Linked DNA regions of Homo sapiens: region 1 is linked to region 2. The links are contacts of gene promoters, found by promoter capture Hi-C in blood cells and fetal thymus (Javierre and others, 2016). All regions are on one chromosome and are shown on one strand. Each heading gives the region's core, a stretch centred on a gene start or on the middle of the fragment in contact. The rest is flanking DNA. Distances are from core to core; before and after follow the strand shown.

Evidence for each region. The method cuts DNA at HindIII sites, captures the fragments that hold promoters and counts their contacts. A CHiCAGO score of 5 or more calls a contact.
Region 1: a contact is called between a fragment that was not itself captured here and the fragment with the promoter of HS3ST5 in region 2, in 1 of 17 cell types (M2 macrophages). The highest score is 6.8, in M2 macrophages.

What each region holds. Positions count from the first base shown.
Region 1 is chr6:112,614,867-112,619,684 of GRCh38, forward strand. It overlaps the pseudogene PA2G4P5. Among named protein-coding and RNA genes, the nearest start is that of RFPL4B, 270 kb to the left of the region's middle. The HindIII fragment of the contact is 4,394 bases long and covers 1-4,002 here.
Region 2 is chr6:114,340,399-114,345,205 of GRCh38, forward strand. HS3ST5 (heparan sulfate-glucosamine 3-sulfotransferase 5) reads right to left here and starts at 2,625. Exons shown (of 5, transcript NM_153612.4): 1 at 1,797-2,625. LOC107986638 (a long non-coding RNA gene) reads left to right here and starts at 1,927. Exons shown (of 8, transcript XR_002956366.2): 1 at 1,927-1,991. HDAC2-AS2 (HDAC2 and HS3ST5 antisense RNA 2) reads left to right here. Exons shown (of 10, transcript NR_125845.1): 10 at 124-331. The HindIII fragment of the contact is 8,063 bases long and covers 1-4,807 here.

The DNA.
Region 1 (4,818 bases), core at 556-3,055, 1.7 Mb before region 2:
TTTAAAGGTGATCAGCAAGCCCTTGGGTGCTGTCTGTGTCATAGCAATGGGGCTTTAATTATAAAATCCCCAAGTGCAATACACAGATCAAGAGTTGAGTTCCAGTGTTCGATAGCCCAGGAGGGAAACTACTGTTACAATAACTTATTGTACATTTCAAAATAGCTGAAAGAAAGATTTGGAATTTTCCCAACACAAAGCAAGGGCAAACATATGAGGCATTGTATATCCCAATTACCCTAATTTGATCACTACACATTGTATGCATGTGTTAAAATATTGCATGTACCTCAGGAAGGTATATGATCATTATGTATCAGCAAAAAAAAGGTTTGAGGCCACTTGTCTAGTTCCTCAGCCTTTGTGACGATCTCTCCTAAGAAACTCATTTTTGTGTGTGTGTGTGTGTGTGTGTGTTTTTTTTTGAGATGGGGTCTCACTCTGTCGCCAGGCTGGAGTGCAGTGGCGCGATCTCGGCTCACTGCAAACTCCAACTCCCTGTTTCAAGCGATTCTCCTGCCTCAACCTCCCAAGTAGCTGGGATTACAGGCACACACCAACACTCCCAGCTAATTTTTGTATTTTTAGCAGAGACGGGGTTTCACCACGCCAGCCAGGCTGTTCTCGATCTCCTGACCTCGCAATCCACTCGCTTCGGCCTCCCAAAGTGCTGGGATTACAGGTGTGAGGCACTGTGCCCGGCCAGAAACTTTTTTTAAAAAAATTAAATAAAAGCATGTAAAATTTCATTTTATAAATAAGGCCATTTCTATTTTATTTCTATTATTATCCACAGATATTTATTTATTTATTATTTTTATTTTTATGAGAAAATTCAAATTTATTTTAATGTCATGTCATTTTCAATGTGCTTAAAAACCTCATAAATTAGTAGGAGCCCTAGTTTCCTGGGACAGCATGCCAGATGTACTGAAATTTGTCACCTTTCCCTACAAACCCCTAGAAATTTAATCCAAGTCCATAGCTTCAGAAAGCTAGGAGTTGTATCTTCAGACAGTCTACTCCTCTGGTTCTTGGTTTTTCTTTCAAGGGAAGGAGATCACAATATTTCAAACAGTGAACAAAACCAGTTGAGCTTCCAGCTCAGTTTTCTGTAGAATGGAGCAGGGAAGACCCCACTGACTCCAGAGAAAAGGGTGAGGTTGAGATGGATTATTTCTTTACAGCTTTGTGAAAATGGAAGAAAAAAGATTGACTAATTCAGATCCATTTCATAGATAAGAATCGCTTCATAAATGAAGGCTCCAGCTCCTAAAATGGGAGGGGCCTGGCTGGACAGCCTGAATCAGATGAGGAATTGGCCACACTGAATAAAAACAATCTGAAAAATAATCCTAATTTTGAAGCCAGATAAAATACTTGGGGAGAATGGAAAAAAGGAAAAAGCCCCAAACGGATGAAAAAATGCTAACATCAGAATGGTATAAAAAAATTTGGCTGAGTTTTCAGTGGTGGTGGCCAATTTAGCCTGGTTCTGTAGTAGGGTCACAAACCTTGACCAAGCAGAGAGTAGTAGAAAAGGCTAGAAAGAGGGGCTTGAAGACTATGAATTTTGACCCCTGATTTTATTATTCAATTTCTTTTTTTCATCTAAAGTAGTCTTCCGTGCCCAGGAAGCCTCGCCTCCCAAGACCAGAGTCAGTTGGAGCCGGTTGTTGTTGGAAAGGAGTGGGTTGGGTAACTGGGGTGGAGGCAGGGAGACCCCCACTCTGCTGGATGTCCTAGGTGGAGAAGAAGAACTGCACTTCACAGAGTCTGGGGTGTAGTGGGAAGGGGATGAGGCAGGAGCAGCAAGCTGGGGAGATGGGACCCACCTCAGTCCCCAGCTTCATTTTCTTCTAATATTTCCCCACTGGTGGCATTTTCTGCAGTCTTGGAGGCCTTCTTTTTTTTTTCTGGGTTTTTCGACTTGCAGAACTCGAGCAGGGCCTTTAGCTCTGCATCCTGGACCTCCATCTCAGACTTGTAGAGGTCAGGCTTGAGGGGACTACTGGTTATCCGCATGGGGCCACTGGGCATGAGCAGAACTGTAAATTTAAACTGGGCAAAAAATTCACTCTCCTTCTCATGGAGAACATTAAATGGTTGCAGCAGTTCATGTTTGGCACACTCCACCACACCTATCCGAGCCTTCTTCTCATCTTCAAATGCTCTTAAAGTAAACAGCATGACATCAAAACGCCTTTCCATCCACTGAAGAAGGCACGTGAAGTTTTCATTTTCAGTCCATACTCTTCAGGAGTGTCTCATTTGTAAATAGGGGTTCTCTGTCCTGCATCCTTGGCCTTGCCCTCTCCTGAGCTGATGAGAACATCCACAGCGTATACTTCATATACCTCAAATTCATCTTTTTCGTGGTCCTTCTTCTGCTGGTCTGTGGGATTCTGGATAACGGTTTTTTCTCCATCGATGACATGCTGCTTCAACTGGTGTGACAGCATACCTTCTATTGGCTTGTAGTTAAATTACTGGGCAACTTTGTTCCAGGCTTCTGTCACTTGTGTGTTCTGATTTCCAGGTTTGACCAGGCGTAGGGCAGCTTCAGCACAAAGGTGAGCTGCCTTAATAACATCTGCTTTCCTCCCTGTTACTTGGGTCCCCTGAGCCACATCAACCACAAAAGTATGAGCTACATTAGCGATGAAGCCATCCACATAGACCCCAAGGTCAATTTTTACCAAGTCACCTTCCTTGAGAATATAATCCTGGCCACTCTCCAAAGGGGAGAAGTGACATACACAGTTATTTACTGAAATACTGGTGGGAAAAGCAATGCCTTTCTTCATTTCCTTTTCTTTCTTGAAGATTTTCCCTGTTTCTTCCATAATCACGGCATCACTTTTCTCACACAGGCTCAGTACCAATACACCTGAGCTAGATGCTTCCACCAAGGACCTAAGTACCCGGTGGGCAATGTCGCCCCCCATCTTATACTTGGTCACAACCAGGTCTTCAGCGATAGTTTGCTTCTGCTGCTCGTCCTCACCCTACATCTTCCTACCACCACCACTGCAGCCTCATTTCTCCTGAGCCGCCGCCTCTGTCTCCCTTCCTTGCCGCAGGCTTTGGTCAGAGCCCCCTGGATCCTTGAGGAGAGGGTGAGCGAAAGCGCGAGCTAGCAAGGGAGCGGGCAGGCAGGCGAGCGTCATCCACAGATATTTAAATGAAAGAGACAAGCATACCACACCTTAAAATTTTGAGAATTGAGGAAAGAAAGACATTCTTTTTCTATGAACATGCCAAGCGGGATCCTAACTTAGGGTGTTTGCATTAGTTATTTCCTCAGCTGGAAAGCTGTTTCCCCAGAGCTTCCTTCTCATTCTTGACTCCTTCTTGCCATTCAGGTCTCAACTCAAACTTCGGTGAAAACTTTTTGATTAACTAAACTGCAGTCCCTTGGTGTTTCACTGGCATAGCACCTTAATATATTTTCACCTTGGCACTTTCATATTCTTATTGTATTCTTGATATATTGGCTATTTGCTTACTGTCTACCTTCATCAACGTGAATGTAACTACCAAGAAAGTAAAGACTTTGACTGTCTTGGAGTTGAGTGTTGTATTACTAGTACTTTGAGTATCTGGTGTCACATAATATCTAATCAATAAATAAATGTTTAAAGAATGAATGACATGAAAGCAATAGTGATTGAGTAGAATGAAGCCTCTTCAGATGAATTATATTGGACACAAGAAAAAATAGCTGGGATGTAAAATGAGCTAAAATAGCAGTTAAATAGGTATTAACAAACTGGTTCAAGAGTGTAATTCACTTCATATTGACCAGCCAGAGGTAATAGCAAGCAGCTTTCTAATTGAACAGGGCCCAAACAATATGGTTACTTATGACTAATTAAATTAATCATCTTCGACTTTGTTAAGTGTCTTATAGATGTTTAAAATATCTAAGAAGTATTTACTATATCTATATGATTTATTAGAGGTCATTCTCAATATTCACGGAACACTAAGGAGCTGCCAAGCTTCATTTGAAATGCTGGGGATACAATGGTGAATTAGAAAGCATTCACTGCCTTCAAAGAACATACTCTGCTGTCTAGAGTCTGGAGGAGGATACAGGACAGGAGACTGGTGGGGCCACCATGTGGCGAGTGTTAAGATATTGCCAAATAGTGTTACGGGAGCACAATGGAAGGGCATAAAAGGTCACAAAAACTTCCTTGAGAATGTAAAATCTAGGATAAATAAACTTGTAGGAAAGCTACAAATTAGCTAATCAAATGTGAAAGTTGGTAAAAGGGCAAATGACCCAAGGAGGTGAAAGATTCCAAGGTCACATAGGGAAGCTTAGGAACATACGTATATTTGTGCAATAGAGCATGAGGGAATGCAGTGAGCATACCCCACCAAATGATCATGTTGGTGCTTTGTTAAAAATGATTTAGTGCATCACTGCATTTACCCAGCGTTAGTGAACTATGGTCTTTCTTACTCTAATGGAAAATAAATTCCCAGTGTGTCACATAACTTGTGGAGAAGGACAAAATAACTTCATTTAAGAATTTTGGTGATTTAGAAAAAGCATCTAATTTTGAAAATCGGTTTTATTCATTGAGTATTGAATGTCTGCTCTCTGTCAAGCGTTGTGGTCAATGCTGAATGCAGGGTGGAGAACAAAACAGATAGAAAGCACACTGCTGTGGATCTTGAAGACTGTGCCATTGGAAGCATCTTTGGAAAGGGCTCTGCATTGTTCTGAGGGCCACAGTCAGTAGTAGCAATGGTGAATTTTTCCCCATGGCTTTATAGGCAGTAGATATCAATGAGAAAGCAAAG
Region 2 (4,807 bases), core at 1,375-3,874:
AGCTTGGGAGAGGCCAAAGCAGTTTTCTTTTTCACTGTTAAAACACTGGAGGCGGTTAAATTTAAGCAACAGTTTCCTTCCCATTGCTATGTGTCTTGTAATATCTTCTTGTGTCTCCATCAGTTCACTGGTGAATAACTTCATATTCCTGAAGTTAAGAAGCCTGCCCTGATGCTCATGCAGTTACTTTGAGCAATGACCAAACAGAGAGAGGAAGGTAAGTAGTATTGTTTTCATTTCTTTAAAAACTTCACTAGGAGGAAACCCCAAGGTAACAATGACAACAACAAAAATCTATTGCAACATAATTGATAGCAATAAAACCTTTTTTAAAAAATAATCATTTTTGATATTCATATTTGTAATCCCCTTTTATTATCTTCAACTTTTTCTTGAAAAGACCTTAATATATTTGAAATAAATTATAATGTGTAATTTGTCTAAAGCTCTGAAATATGTAGAAACTACTAAGTAAAACCTTTGAGAAGCACCAGCTGTTTATTACTTCTAGCAAATCAGTTTAGAAAGGAGCATTAGCACAGAAAGAAGGCCCACCCACCCACTTTCGCCCCCACCCAACCCGACCCTGCATGCTATTTATCAGACCAAGTTTACATAAATCAGAGAAGAGTTACAGTGCTATTAAATGTATCCACGAAGTAATATGACATAAAGCACTTTGCAAATATTAAATCTCTCCCCAGTGTTTTCTAAGAAGAAACTGGTATTCGTATTCGGAGACAGAGAGGAGAGGGGGAGAGAGGGGAGGGAGGGAGGGAGAGGGAGAGGGAGAGGGAGAGGGAGAGGGAATAGGGAGAGAGGGGGAGAGAGAGAGAGAGAGAGAGAGAGAGAGAGAGAGAGAGTGAGTCCCACCGGGTGAAGACAGGGTAGACCACGAATGTGAGCATCAGCTCCCTTGGGTGGGTGCCCTGAAGCACTGAAGTAGGGAAGCGGAAGAGTAGAGGAAACCCACCAAGGTGAAGTGACTCCGGAGTTGTTTGTTTGCTGGGCGCTTGGAACCTCCAGGTAAAGACATCCACCTTAAGCTGGACGCTCCTTGCAGGTTGCCCTAAACCAAGGTGGTCGCCCAAGTAACAGGAGCAGGAGTCTCAGCGCTCCAGTGAGTAGCGACAGCGACCTCTCAGACTTGTTTGTAGTAACAGTATGACCACCCTTCGACTGCATCCATCCCGCGCGCGCGCGCGCGTGTGTGTTGGGTGGGAAGAGATGCATAAAGTGGGGCTGTGAGGGGTGTGGGGGGGGCCAGCTGGGAAGAGAAAACCCCACCCACATGTTAACTTAGCCTTTGCCTGTTCTTTGCCTGCCCTCTGCCTGTCCTCTGCTGGGGCCTCGCAGGCCCCCACTGTCCCAAAGCTGCCCTCGCGCTCCAAACAGCTCCACAGCCACCCCAGAAGTGACCGAACGCGAACCCCTAAACTCTGGCGAGCGCAGTAAACGCGTGTTCCCTTTCTCCCTCAAAGAGAGCGCTACCCAGCGCTCTGGGAGAGACTGAGAGAGAAACAGACAGGCAGGCTGACTGACACCTTCTGTCTAATTTTACCCCAGGAATTGCCCCCGCCGTTTCTCATCTCGCACTAGTTTAACCTCTGGTCCTAAGCAAACCTCTCAAAAGTCTTCCCCAGGCAGCGCCCAGGAGAACCGAACCCCACAAAGTGCTTTTTTGCTGGCATCACCCGGATGCTTCCCTTTGGCGATTTGCCCCTTCTCATTTCCCCCCAAATCTAGAGGTCTCAAAGCCCCTCCCCCGCGCGAGGCGGGCAGCGCGCCTTGCTCACCGTGGTCCCCGGCGGTGGCGGCGCGGGCGGGAGCCTCAGGGCGCGGGGGTCGGCGGCGGGTCGCGTGGGGGTCACCCGGCCGCTGCTGCGGTCCGGACGGCAGTTGGTCCAGTAGTTTCGGATGCCCGGGCTAGGCTCGGCGGAGAGCGAGTCGGCGTGAATGAGAGCAAACCAACAGGGCTGTGCGTGGCGCGTGTGAGTAAGACGCGAGCGGGCCCCACACGCAGGCGGCGGCGGCGGCGGCGGCGGCGGCGAGGTCTGAGGCGGGGAGCCGGGCGGGGGGGCAGGCGGGCGAGAAGTAGTGGAGTTTAGGGCGCGTTTCCTGCACTTCCCCGAGAGGCTGGAACCAGGTGCGGCAGGGCGCGCTCCCGTGGCGCGGGCACGGCACGGGCGGCCGCAGGAGCCGGAGTCCGCGCAGTGCCGGAGACCGCAGCCGCTCTGCGGGGGGAGGTGCGCATCCTCCTTGCCCCACGAGGGCACCGGCGCAGCCCCGGACCCTGCGCGCAGAGGGCGAGACTTCGGGCGTCCTCGGTGACAGCTCCTCGGGCAGCCCGCTCCCTCCCAATCCGCCCAAAAGAGCAACACTCAGTGTGACTGGGATCTTCCCTTCCTGCGTCCTCGAGCCTCCGGTGCCAAGCTGTGCGGGCGCCCCGCTCCCCGCGGCTGGCGCTGTCACGGCCGCCGCCCGGCCCCCAGAGCGCCCGAGCCGGCAGCTGCCTCCCGGAGACGTGCCCAGCTGTGTGCGCGTGTGTGTGTCTAAGCGAATCTCTTCCCCTCCATCACTTGGGCGCGCAGGAGGGACCGGGTCCCTGGCGACCAGCTGCAGAGTGGCTGCCAGTCCACACCCTCCCGGCTCTCTCCCCACCCACCCCGCCCCTACTCCTCCTCGCCTTCCCCTCCTCCCCGTGCTCCTCCTCCAGCTGCCGCTCCCGAGCTCCCAAAGGCAGCGGAGAAACCGCAGCGAAAGGGAGGAGGAGGAGGGTGGGGAAGGAAGCGCAGGTGTCTTCGGCGGAGAGACGGGCGCACGCACCGGAGCGGCTTGCTGCAGGGGGAGGGCAGGGCCTTAGGCGGAGAAAGGGGAGGAGGAGGATTTACCCGGAGGCGGAGGTCCCGCAGCTGAGCCACTGCGCGTCCCACCCAGGCGCTGGAACCGCGGGCGAGCAGCGCAGTGGGGCTGCCGGGTGGGCGCGCAGGGCTCCCAGTTGGACTGAGGTCGCAGCTTGGGGAACCTGCGGAGGTGACCAGGGTGGCAGAACTCGGGGACACAGAGGTCGGAGGGACCCAATTGCTGAGGCGCTGAGACCGGTCTCTCTGGGGTGAGGGGGATGCCTAGACCCAGAGCTTGGGGCACACAGGTGTCCAGGAAGCTGGTGTGTGTGGCTCCAGAGTGCCAGGCGGGAGAGCCGGAGGCGGTGAAGGGTCGGGCGGCGGCCGCGGCGTGCTTGGGGCTGCTGTGTGCATCCGGAGTCACAGGGGGCGATCACCGCCTAGCTGGGAAGCGGAGCTCAGGACTCAGCCTTCTTTCAGGTCCCAAGTCCAAAAGCCGAGAGGCACACTAGCCTTCCCAATTTAGTCTGTGTTCCTCCAACCCTTTGCCCCCAGCAAAACAACAGGCCAGGAGCTGATTCTACCTGCTACTTACTGTGCTCTTTACCGGACTGAAAGGACTCTACTGCTCCAAGGAGACTGATGTGTTGCTTCCTCTCTCCCAACTCTAGTCCCCTCCCTCAACATACATTCCTACCCAACCAAAATTATCCAGAACATTGTATTTCTCATTGATAAACTTTTTCCCTCTGGGGTTCCCTAAAAATGAAAATCTTTCCTCCCTTTTTATCTGTAGAGGCATTAAGTCTCTTGCTTACATTTCATAGTACAAATGCAGTACACAGAAAAGTCCTTTAGGCAAGAAATCACAGCATTATTGCTTATGACGGCTTGTCTGTTTTCAAATGACAGTCGCAGAATGCAAATTTGTGTCAACCTGAGGTCAGTGGAGAGAGTTGGTCCATTTAATTAGAGGTATTTTGGAAGGAATCTGGGAAACAACACTAGAAAGAATTGCTGTACTTTCTCCAGTACCCATTCCTTTTTATTATGGTAATTTCACTCTGTTAATTTAGGCAATCTGAAAATGAAAGGTCGGATGCAATTTACAAGGCACAATATTTCTAGATTCTCATTCAACAGCCCGCCCCACCTCCTTCCTCCCACCACTCTTACCATCACCTCAAAAGGTCATGAGCTAAGAACCGAAACTGCACTTTTTAAATCTCAGGATATAGCCTGAATGACAAAGCTGTTGAGTTTTAGAAAGAGACCAGTTAAGTCTAAACTTATTTACCAACTACTCAGACAAAATCATATGCTCAGCAGCAACAATAAAATGTATACTGTGTAATATATTGAGCAGGAGGAAAGATGGCTGTTTGCCAGATATGTGATCCATTAACCTCTTTAGCTCATTGTTGGCAACAATAGCATACAATCACATTCCTATGTTTGAAAGACAAGAGATTTTTTTTTCCCATCTTAAAATCACAATGCCACATTATAGTCTAAAAGAAACCTCAAACAATAAAAGTAATAAGAAAGGAAGAAACATGGTTTGTTTTTTTTCTGAACAAATGTTGCTGTTCTGTTTTTTTTTCTTGAGGGGAAAAATGCTGATAAGCAATAAAGTCCACAAAAGCATGACAATAGATTTTGAAGAATGCATCACTCCATCTATTAGTCCTTTCAATTAGTAAACTTTATTTAAAAGGTTTATTTATATTATCTTTTGATTGGTATTCAGTCTTTCTTTTGTGCCTGGAAGATGACTGAGAAGGAGGATGGGTGAGCTGAATCTGGTTTCTCATAATTCTGTCTTGCATCAGGTTTATGTCTGGCAGGAGAGGAATGCTCAGCAGCCTGTGCTTTCTCAGCAATCCTAACTTCTCCTCAGAGGATCCTTTGCTCTGTAGCTGATGGATTGTGAGATTGTCACAGTAATTTTGCCTACCTGCTAC